4 separate regions of the Homo sapiens genome follow, and all the other regions are linked to region 4. The links are contacts of gene promoters, found by promoter capture Hi-C in human tissues and cell types (Jung and others, 2019). All regions are on one chromosome and are shown on one strand. Each heading gives the region's core, a stretch centred on a gene start or on the middle of the fragment in contact. The rest is flanking DNA. Distances are from core to core; before and after follow the strand shown. Region 1 overlaps KLC1 (kinesin light chain 1). Region 2 overlaps COA8 (cytochrome c oxidase assembly factor 8). Region 3 overlaps KLC1 (kinesin light chain 1). Region 4 holds the start of TDRD9 (tudor domain containing 9).

Region 1 (2,700 bases), core at 100-2,599, 270 kb after region 4:
CCATCCTGGCTAACGCAATGAAACCCTATCTCTACTAAAAATACAAAAAATTGGCCAGGCGTGGTGGCACACACCTGTAGTCCCAGCTACTCGGGAGGCTGAGGCAGGAGAATCGCTGGAGCCCGGGAGGTGGAGGTTGCAGTGAGCCAAGATCGTGCCACTGCACTCCAGCCTGGGTGACAGAGTGAGACTCCATCTCAAAAAAAAAAAAAAAAAAAGTTAACTGAATCAGAAATAAATGTTGAATGAAAAATAACTGAGACTAGGATAAACATCCAAATAGAGCCAACAGAGAAAGAAGGCTGGGCATGGTGGCTCCCACCTGGAATACCAGCACTTTGGGAGGCTGAGGTGGGCAGATCACTTGAGGCCAGGAGTTCAAGACCAGCCTGGCCAAAACAGTGAAACCTCATCTCTACTAAAAAAAAAAAAAAAAAAAAAAAAAACTTAGCTGGGCATGGTGTCACACACCTGTAATCCCAGCTACTCCAGAGGCTGAGGCAGGAGAATCACATGAACCCGGGAGATGGAGGTTGCAGTAAGCCAAGATTGTGCCATTGCACTCCAGCCTGAGTGACAGAGCGAGACTCCTTGTAAAAAAAAGAAGAAGAAGAAAACCAAGATCGTTTCTTCCCCTGCAGATACAGAAAGATAAGCTGGCAAGGGAAGCCAAGGGGAGGATGAGAGAGGCGGCAAGAGAGCCAGGTGGTGTCCAGAGGGCCAGGGGAGTTTCAAAGAGAATGGCAATGCCAAGAGCACCCACCCTAAGGGGCAGAGAGGTTGCCCAGAGTCCAAATTCAGACGGCCAGATTGGACCACTGCTAGACCAGCAGCTGATGGCATGGAAGCCAAGCTACAGAGGGGCAAGGAAGCTCCAGAGCCTAAGCTGGGGCAGACCTCGGGACAGACCTCGGGGCAGACCTTGTTGAAGGTAATGGTGTCTCTCTGGATTGTGGCTTATATTTACAAAACATTTTTGCATGTTCTAATGTTCTAATATGTTCTAATATGAAAAGAATATGGCAAACAGAACCTCTATGACTTTCCCAGTGACTCCATTTTAAACATTAGCACCACATTTGCTACAGAGCCACTCACGGATGGGGAAATGTCGTCATCATATTTTTTTAGCTGATTCATAAACTCCAGATGCTTCTTCTCCTCCTCCAGTTGAGCCACAGACTGCTCACTCTTCTGCAGTTTCTGCTGCGTGTTGGCCAGTTCATCCCGTAGCCACTGATTCTCCTGGCACAGACGACGAACCTGCGCACGCAGTTTCTGCTTCTCGGACTCCACAGCATTCAGGTGATTTGACAAAGCCATCATAACCTGAGCAGACAGAAACGTGTGCAGCACTGTGGCACGTTGTCCAGCAAGAGTCCCTCCCACCCGTGCGAACATTCTGTGGCTGGGGCTGTAGCTTACACTCGCAGATATTTTCTCCAAAGTACATATAAGTACAATCTGCCATTTACTTCTCTTTTCCCCTTCAGCCACAGACTACAAAGCAGGGTATGATAAAGAATATCACACGCTCAGAATGCCTACAAAAAAATACTTATTTTTTTGAAGAGCATGCCAAATGAACTAGCAATGAAAACACAGCTACCCTTCTGATGAAACTGTATTATTTTACTTTCTATCAAGATGGGCCCAACATAATTTTTTATAGACCCTTTCCCATGTGTAAGACCTCGTGTACACACATGCATGTCTGCGCACAGAGTGCATGTTGGTGAAGGGCTGCAAGTGGGGGTCAGAGAACAGTGCACATACAAATCTTCCTTGATGTTCCAAGGTGAGAGAAGACATCTCTGTAGCTACCACCAAGAGTAAGAATGCACTGGTGCACTCATAAGCTTATGTTTATGTCATAAAATCCAGGGGCCACTCCAGGGCTCTGCCTACAGAGTGCTCACTGGTTTCTGGAACAGACCAGCGTGAGGCTGTGGCAAGTTCCTAGGAGCATAAGAGCACAAACAGCTAGGAGCTGGCTGGCAGCAATCTGTTCTCTCTTTAGAACATACATCTGCCCATCCCTCTCATAACATAATAACCAGGTTATTATCCTCCTAGGTTTAAAACCTGAAACTCCAGAAGGTGGGACCTTTTCTTCCTTCTTTTTTTAAAACTCTTATCTGCGACACCAAAAAAGCAAGTTTAAATTCATGTCACCTGTTCTCAAGGTAACAGAACTTGAGAAATAATACGTTCACAATATCCAAACAGAGCTACAGTTCTGCAACTCAAGGCTGTAACATGGTTAGGATGAAGACTCTAAAATCAGGGTGTGGGCAGTCACTTCCTCTATGAAAGCAGAAACCGCTGGCCAGCAGCCCCTCTTCTGCTCTATTCACTCACTAAACTAGAGAATGCTAAGAAAGAAGCAAAGCTTTGGTATATTTAATTTTACCTAAGATATGCTGACAGAGCCAGAAGTTATCAGGAGAGAGTATTTAAAAACCTAGATGTTTCCAGTGTTTTCATCTCTATGTCAAGCATGATATTATAGAAACAAAGGTTAGTCAAAGATATGAAGCAATCTGGCCCTGGGATTGCAGAGACCATCACCCACTGGCCAGTGTCCATTCTCCTTCCTTAGGCTTAAGGACCTGCCACTGTAAGTGGGAAGACAACATTCCCCAGTCTCCCACTCACCCAGGTACAGCCATAAGGTCTGGCCAATGCAATGTAAGCACT
Region 2 (2,700 bases), core at 131-2,630, 340 kb after region 4:
TTTTTGTAGACAGGGTTTCACCATGTTTGGCCAGGCTGGTCTTGAACTGACCTCAGGTGATCCGCCCACCTTGGCCACCCAAAGTGCTGAGATTACAGGCGTGAGCCAGTGCGCCCGGCCTTTTTTATTATTTTTTTAAATTTTTATTTGAGACAGGGTCTGGCTCTGTTGCCTAGTGGTAGGATCTTGGCTTAGTGCAGCCTGGACCTCACTGGCTCAATCAATCCTCGAAGCTCAGCCTCCCGAGTAGCTGGGACTACAGGCGCATGCTACCATGCCCAGCTAATTTTTGCATGTTTTGTAGAGGCAGGGTTTCGCCATGTTGCCCAAACTGGTTCGAACTCCTGAGCTCAAGTGATTTGCTTGCCTTGGCCTCCCAAATTGTTGGGATTACAGGTATGAGTCACCATGCCTGGCCATTTAACCTTCGTGTTTAAGAAAAGAGGAAAATAGTGCTGCTGTTTCTTGTTAATTTGCTTATAGCATTGAAGAATCTACTAACATAGTTAACACCAAGAATCAAGTTAAACTTTTTGGCATGCAATAAAATTGCATTTGCTTTCATGTCCTCACACCGCACTGCATTCAGGACGCAGCCTGTGAGGACCCACCAGCTGACGACTCACAGTGAGGGTGGTGCTGACTCCACGGCCAGCACACCGATCGCTTGGCAGTCAGCTTCCACATCATTCCCGTCAGCAGACTTCTTTTTTCCAGTAAAACTTTATTAATTATTATTATTTTTTGATACAGAGTCTCGTTTGGTCTTCCAGGCTGGAGTGCAGTGGTGCGATCTTGGATCACTGCAACCTCCGCCTCCTGGGTTCAAGCGTCGCATGCCTCAGCCTCCAGAGCAGCTGGGATTACAGGTGCGTGCCACCACACCCAGCTAATTTTTTGTAGAGACAGGGTTTTGCCATGTTGTCCAGACTGATCTTGAACTCCTGATCTCAAGTGATCCACCCGCCTCGGCCTCCCAAAGTGCTGGGATTACAGGTGTGAGCCACCGTGCCTGGCCAATATTTTTAAATAGTTCTGTTTTGAATTGGTATAATTCGAAACACAGGAAACGGGCACCCAGTGCTTGGGCTTTATTTCACACCACGTACGTGACAACAAGCTGGCCTAGAGCCCACATCAGCAGGCAGGCGGCCCACAGTGCCCCAGGACCTACCCTGCCCCCAAACAGGCCATGGGGCCCCTTAGGAAGATGTGGGGCTTCTTGAGATCAGCTCCAGTTTTTCTCAGAGCCCCTGTGAAAGGAGCTCCATCTGCTTCCTGTGGAAACCTGGACTCTGGCTGGGTCAGAGTGGACTCCTAGTTGCTCCTCTTCTTTTGTTTCTGTTTAAGCTTGTTCCAAATCCTTTCCAGGGCCACTTTTCCCATGAAGAAGGTGATGGCAAAATTGCGCTTGTACCAATCTCTGTAGAGAAACAGAGGATGCACAGGTGACACGGTGGCAGGGACTGAGGCTTGGTGCCCTGGCCCAGAAGTGGCTCCCAGTTGAGGATGAGTTCAACTGACCAGGCCTCAACTGCTTTGCCCTTTCCCTGCCCTTGTTAAAGCTAAACTATTCATAGAGGCCTGCCTCTCCTCAGGCTGAGAGTGAGGCCCACTGGCGACGCCTGGAGTCCTCTCCAGCCCTGTTTCTGGAGGCCGCCACCATCCTCCTTTGGTGTTTTTTTTTTTTGAGACGGAGTCTCGGTCTGTCGCCCAGGCTGGAGTGCAGTGGCGCGATCTCGGCTGACTGCAAGCTCCGCCTCCCGGGTTCGCGCCATTCTCCTGCCTCAGCCTCCCGAGTAGCTGGGACTACAGGCGCCCGCCACCACACCCGGCTAATTTTTTGTATTTTTTTTTTTTAGTAGAGACAGGGTTTCACCGTGTTAGCCAGGATGGTTTCGATCTCCTGACCCACCTGCCTCAACCTCCCAAAGTTCTGGGATTACAGGTGTGAGCCACCGCACCCGGCCCCTCCTTTGGAGTTTTTTTTGTTTTGTTTTTTCATCTTGCTTAGTTGTCCAGGCTGGAGTACAGTGGCACAATCTTGGCTCATTGCAACCTCTGCCTCCTGGGTTCAAGTAATTCTTCTGCCTCAGCCTCTTAAGTACTCCTTTGATTTTTGCTAAAAGATCCAAGAGAGCCCTTGGAAACCCCAGGCCTGCCGAGCTGGCAGCATTTTAGGGATGTGATGGGCCACGACCACTCTGGAGGCTCTGCATGGCAGGACAGAAAGTTCCTCTCCACCTGCAAACCACCTTTACACCTCCACCTACTTAAGCAATGCTGTCATGAGGAGCAGTGCCCAAAGTAAATAAGCGCTTCCAGGAGAAGAAAACCGGTAGCCCATGGGGATTACAGTTCTTCAAGGAAAAGCCATATTCCATTTCACTAATACAGACGACCTGATTCTATGACATGTAAAAGCAAGCTACACTTCTGCTGTTGCCACAGGGAAGGCAGGGGCAGGAGGTGGTGGTGGGGGCCAGGCTCCTCTAAGGCCTGATCTTGGGTAAGGCTGGTCCTCTTCACCCGAGTGCCACAGAGAAAACATGAAGCCCATCAGAGACTGTGCCCCGTGCAAACAAGCTACGTGTCCAAAGACCAGGGAAAGATTATACTCGCTTGTTTGAATGACTTAACTAATTCAGAGTAATACATGACAACCTTAGAAATGGAATCCAGATATTTCAGGACTAATCT
Region 3 (2,700 bases), core at 189-2,688, 290 kb after region 4:
AAGAAAACAGAGGTTTTTTCCTTGCAAAGGTTTATAAGGGATGTTTTACCGAGAGATGGGCAACAGGAAACCCTGGCAGTGCTGGCCAGATCAGCAGGGTCAGGTCCCATCCCCATATACAGGCGCAGAAGCCCCAAACAATACCAGCAAAGAGGGTCCTGAGGTGAAGGGACCAGCCTACAGGAACAGTCCACGTCATATTCAGGGAAATAAATAGTATCTTGGTGGCCCAGCATAGTGGCTTACGTCTGTAATCCCAGCACTTTGGGAGGCCAAGGAGAGCAGATCATTTGAGCCCAGAAGTTAAAGACTAGCCAGGGCAATGCCATGAAACCCTGTCTCTACAAAAAACAAGCCGGTCATGGTGGTGCGCACATGTAGTCCCAGCTACTTCAGGGGCTGAGGTGGGACGATCACTTGAACACGAGGCTGCACTGAGCCACGACTGTGACACTGCACTCCAACCTAGGCAACAGAGCAAGATCCTGTCTCAAAAATTAAATAAATACATAAATATTTTTTTAAAAAGAAAACATTAACAACCAGACAAAACAAATGCATCTATTTGGCCTTTGGGTGACTTATTTATAGATATGCTTTCAGAATTAAGGAAAGCGGATGTTGCTTAGGCAACAACAAAAAATAAAAGATAAAAATAAACCCTGCGAAAATTTCTTTTTTTTTTTTGAAACAGAGTCTCACTCTGTTGCCCAGGCTGGAATGCAGTGTCGCAATCTCGACTCACTGCAACCTCTGCCTCCCGGGATCAAGCGATTCTTCTGCCTCAGCCTCCCAAGTAGCTGGGACTACAGGTGCACACCACCACGCCTGGCGAATTTTTGTAATTTTAGTAGAGACGGGGTTTCACCATACTGGCCAGGGTAGTCTCAAACTCCTGACTTCATGATCCACCCGCCTCGGCCTCCGAAAGTGCTGGGATTATAGGTGTGAGCCACCGCGCCCAGCCGAAAATTTCTTTAATAAAACTTGCCAGAGCATGGTTAAGAAAAATTAAAAGTATTGATTTATTAAAAGGCACTACCAAAAAATAAAGTTAAGCCATAGATTAGGAAAAAATATTTGCGACACATATATATCTGGCAAACGGCTTGTATAAAAAATACGTCAGCCTGGGCAATAGAGCAAGAGCAAGACTCCATCTGAAAAAAAAAAAACATGTAAGGAACTGCTGGGCGTGGTGGCTCACGCCTGTTAATACCAGCACTTTGGGAGGCCAAGACGGGCGGATCACGAGGTCAGGAGATCGAGACCATCCTGGCTAACATGGTGAAACCCATATCTAATAAAAATACAACAAAAAAAAAAATTAGCTGGGCGTGGTGGCAGGCGCCTGTAGTCCCAGCTACTCCAGAGGCTGAGGCAGGGGAATGGCGTGAACCCGGGAGGCAGAGCTTGCAGTGAGCCGAGATCGCGCCACTGCACTCAAGCCTGGGCAACAGAGGAGACTCCATCTCAAAAATAAATAAATAAATAAATATGTAAGGAACTTAAAAATACAAACAATCCAATTTTTTAAATGGGCAAAAGTCTTGAACAGACACTTTACAAATCCAGGCATACAAAGACCGACAAGCATGTAAGCGCTCACCATTATGAGTCATCAGTGAAATGCACATTAAAACTAACAAGATGCCACTATACCCCGCTAGAATGGCTCAGATGAAAAAGACAGGCAAGGCCAGGCACGGTGGCTCACGCCTGTAATCCCAACACTTTGGGAGGCCGATGGGGGGTGATCACCTGAGGTCAGGAGTTCAAGACCAGCCTGACCAACATGGAGAAACCCATCTCTACTAAAAATACAAAATTAGCCCGGCATGGTGGCCCATGACTGTAATCCCAGATACTCAGGAAATTAAAGCAGGAGAATTGTTTGAACTCGGGAGGCAGAGGTTGCAGTGAGCTGAGATCGTGCCACTGCACTCCAGCCTGGGCAACAAGAGTGAAACTCCATCTCAAAAAAAATAAAAAATAAAGTATTGAAAGTAGTCAAAATCATAGAAACAAAGTAGAAAAGATGGTTACCGGGGGAGGGCGAGGGAGGAGGAGATATCAGTATTTGGGGGCTACAGTCTCAGCGCTGCCAGATGAAAGAGTTCCAGAAATGTGGAACAACGATGTGCATATCCTTAACACTACTGAATTGTGAACTTTTAAATGGTTAAAATGGTACATCTTTGAAAAAAATTGAAGTGGCGCGAGGTTTCCCCAAGAAAAAGTAATGATAGGATTAAACAGCATTATCATGATTCACTTGAAGCTGCAGCTTTAAGTACTGCAAGGTGATTCAAAGCTTATACCGCGAAGCAAAAAAACTGAGTTAGAATCTTGACTTCACAGCTGTGTAACTTTGGTTTCTGAAACTTCCCCTCTCTCACCCTCAAATTCCTCAACAGTAGAATCTCAGTAACAGTACCTATTTTACTTTTTTTTTTTCTTTTTGAGATGGGAGTCTCACTCTGTCGCCCAGGCTGGAGTGCCGTGGCTCGATCTGGCTCACTGCAACCTCCGCCTCCCGGGTTCAAGTGATTCTCCTACCTCAGCTTCCCAAATACCCGGGACTACAGAAGCATACTACCACACGCGGCTAATTTTATATTTTTAGTAGAGACAAGGTTTCACCCATGTTGGCCAGGCTGGTCTCAAACTCCTGACCTCAGGTGATCCGCCCTCCTCAGC
Region 4 (2,700 bases), core at 140-2,639:
AAAACCTTGCCAAAACTTGGAAGCAGGCCGGGCGCAGTGGCTCACGCCTGTAATCCCAGCACTTTGGGAGGCTGAGGTGGGCAGATCACCTGAGGTCAGGAGTTCTAGACTAGCCTGGCCAACATGGTGAAACCCTGTCTCTATTAAAAATACAAAAATTAGCCAGGCGTGGTGGCATATGCCTGTAGCCTCAGCTACTCGGGAGGCTGAGGCAGGAGAATCGCTTGAACCTAGGAGGGGGAGATTGCAGTGAGGCGAGATGGCGCCACTCCACTCCAGCCTGGGTAACAAAGTGAGACTCCATCTCGGGGGGTGGGGGGAGAACTTGGAAGCAACCAAGCTCTCCTTCAGTAGGTGAATGGAGATAAACTGTGGTACATCCAGACAGTGGAATATTAATCAGTGCTAAAAGGAAAGAAGCTATCAAACCATGGAAAGGCATGGAGGAACCCCCAAATGCATACTAATACTAAGTGACAGAAACCCATCAAAAAGGCTACACATACTGTGTGATTCCAACTAGATGACAGTATGGAAAAGCAAAATTATGGAGACAGTAAAAAAATCAGTGGTTTCCACGTGGTGTAGGGAAAGGGAGGCAGGAACAGTGGGGCCGAGAAGATCTGTAGGTCAGTGAACTCTGTAATGCGTGACGTTAGGCGTTTGTCCAAACCCACAGAACGTCCAGTACGAGGCGTGAACCCTCCTGTAACGATGGCCTCCGGGTGACGAAGACGCAGCGATGCAGGTTCGCCGACTGTCACAAATACCCACACCTTACGCAGATGCTCACAGGGGAAACTCTGGGAGGGAAGGGGCCTATGGGACCTCTGCCCTCCGCTCCGTTATCCTGAAAACCTGAGTGCCTCAAAAACTAGTCTGTTAAACATTAAGAACTGAAAAAAAAAAAAAAAAAAAAACCTCTAGCTCAGCTTCCTTACAGGCACCGCTCTGGGCCGCGCGTCGGGTTGTGTAGTGACCACTCGCCCTGGACGGTCAGGGGTCCCTGGAGCCCCGCGAGAGGGCACGGGCTCGCGAGAAGGATCTGGATGGCCCGTGCCCTCGTCGCCAGGCCTCGCCCGGCCGCCCTCCAGCCGCCTCCGCCCCGCCCGCGTCCTACCTTTCGAACGCAGCGGCCGGCCGGGCCGGAGCTTGGGCCAGAGCCGGAGCCTGGGCCGCGGGACCAGCGCCGGGGGCCACGTCCTGGCGCTGCACCTCCTCCCTGGCCGCCCCTGCCGGGAAGGCGGGCGGCGCGCCCAGCAGCTCCACATTGGTCACCGTCTTGCCGATGGTGAACCAGTCGTTGATCTGCTCGATGGTGAGCTTCCGCAGCATCCTCAAGGCCCAGGCGTCGGCATCCCCCAACTGCCGGGTCTCCGCGGCGGGAACAGGCGACGGCGGAAGCGCACCCTGGAAGCCCCGCCCCCGCTCGAGGCCTTCCAATCAGAACGCGCCGCGCGCCCTTGTGGGCGGGCTCCGGCCCGGGCGCGTGCTGCCCGCGCTGCCTGGTCCTCGTGCCGCCGGCCCCGCCCCGCCGCGCTAGGCCTGCCGGGAGCCGCCGCCCCGAGCGAGCCCAGGGTGAGCCTTTCTAGGACCTCAGGGGAAGCTTGAGCGCCGCGGCTGGCCCGGGAGTCTGTTTCACGGGAGTTCCGTGGCAACCCCTGTGTGTACAAGAAAATGCCCTCCGGTCACTCCCTGGCCTCTCTATTTAGAGGCTGCTGCCTCGGAGGTTTGTGCGCTTTGAGCGGACCGGGACCCTACATACGTTTCTTGAGCACCTCAGGGTGAGGAGATGGAAGGCAAACCAGAGAAGGGATTTGCGTTCGTGGGTCAGACGTACCAGGACATCCTTGCACCTAATATGGGGGGAGAGGGGCAAGAAGAAGGTCAGGAAGGTCTCGGAGAAAGTAACGCCAGGCAGACCCCTGCAGGATACGGGGGAATGCGCCAGACGGAGGACCACCCAGGGTTATAGGGGAGGGCAGGCGGCCCTGATGGCTGAGGTGAGGATCTGGGAGAAGTTCTTTGCAGCCGGATCATAACTGAATTCATCTTCCTTCCTAAACCGGTGTCTCAGGCGGCGGTGTCAGACTCACAGCTGGACACAAACAGGTGCGGACAGGAGGTCCAGGCGATCACATGGACCAAAGATACAGGCTGAGGTGGTCCCGGCCGAGCTCTAGAAGAGTGAGGGTGGAGAACAGAGCCCTAGCAAACTCCCCAAAAGAAGGAGCCGCGGGAAGAAATCAACAAAGGATGCACGGGAAGGCAGCCACGTGTGCAAGGGAAGGGAGGGTCAGAAGAGAGACATGGCCACCTGCCTGGGGTGTGTCCCCCTCACTGGCCAGGGCAGGATCTATCTGGCCCATGTGGGCTCTCAGGAAAGAGCCATGTGAACAAATACAGAGACGGTATCGAGAGCATGGCTCTAATCAGCAGTGTAAAGCCCAAGCAGTGGCAAATAAGAGGGCGGTTTGAAAACACTGTAGACAGAAATCAGGCAGGTAGGTTGAGCTATTGGTGTCTCAAAAATTGAACCCATAATCATACTAAGCCAGGAGTTCTGGCTCCAAATCCTGGCATAATGAGCTCTAGACCTCATATTAGGACTCTGCCAAATACGACAGGTTCCCAAAAGTGCCTCAACACACTTTGCCAGGAAGAAATAACTTGCTTTTCTTTTTTCTTTTGAGGCAGGGT

The links. Contacts are between HindIII fragments. The study calls those that stand out against the background at their distance.
Region 1: a contact is called between a fragment that was not itself captured here and the fragment with the promoter of TDRD9 in region 4, in 2 of the 25 tissues and cell types used here (dorsolateral prefrontal cortex and spleen).
Region 2: a contact is called between a fragment that was not itself captured here and the fragment with the promoter of TDRD9 in region 4, in 1 of the 25 tissues and cell types used here (dorsolateral prefrontal cortex).
Region 3: a contact is called between a fragment that was not itself captured here and the fragment with the promoter of TDRD9 in region 4, in 2 of the 25 tissues and cell types used here (adrenal gland and dorsolateral prefrontal cortex).

Annotation. Positions count from the first base shown.
Region 1 is chr14:103,656,175-103,658,874 of GRCh38, reverse strand. It overlaps KLC1 (kinesin light chain 1), which reads right to left. Exons shown (of 17, transcript NM_001394837.1): 3 at 1,099-1,329. Among named protein-coding and RNA genes, the nearest start is that of KLC1, 28 kb to the right of the region's middle. The HindIII fragment of the contact is 3,897 bases long and covers 1-2,700 here.
Region 2 is chr14:103,588,904-103,591,603 of GRCh38, reverse strand. It overlaps COA8 (cytochrome c oxidase assembly factor 8), which reads right to left. Exons shown (of 5, transcript NM_001370595.2): 5 at 708-1,423. The coding sequence ends at 1,318. Among named protein-coding and RNA genes, the nearest start is that of COA8, 27 kb to the right of the region's middle. RefSeq lists enhancers at 319-818, 819-1,320. The HindIII fragment of the contact is 3,008 bases long and covers 1-2,700 here.
Region 3 is chr14:103,635,517-103,638,216 of GRCh38, reverse strand. The region is part of intron 1 of KLC1 (kinesin light chain 1); the gene reads right to left. Among named protein-coding and RNA genes, the nearest start is that of KLC1, 7.7 kb to the right of the region's middle. The HindIII fragment of the contact is 4,003 bases long and covers 1-2,700 here.
Region 4 is chr14:103,927,145-103,929,844 of GRCh38, reverse strand. It overlaps TDRD9 (tudor domain containing 9), which reads right to left and starts at 1,389. Exons shown (of 36, transcript NM_153046.3): 1 at 1,121-1,389. The coding sequence starts at 1,335. The HindIII fragment of the contact is 10,851 bases long and covers 1-2,700 here.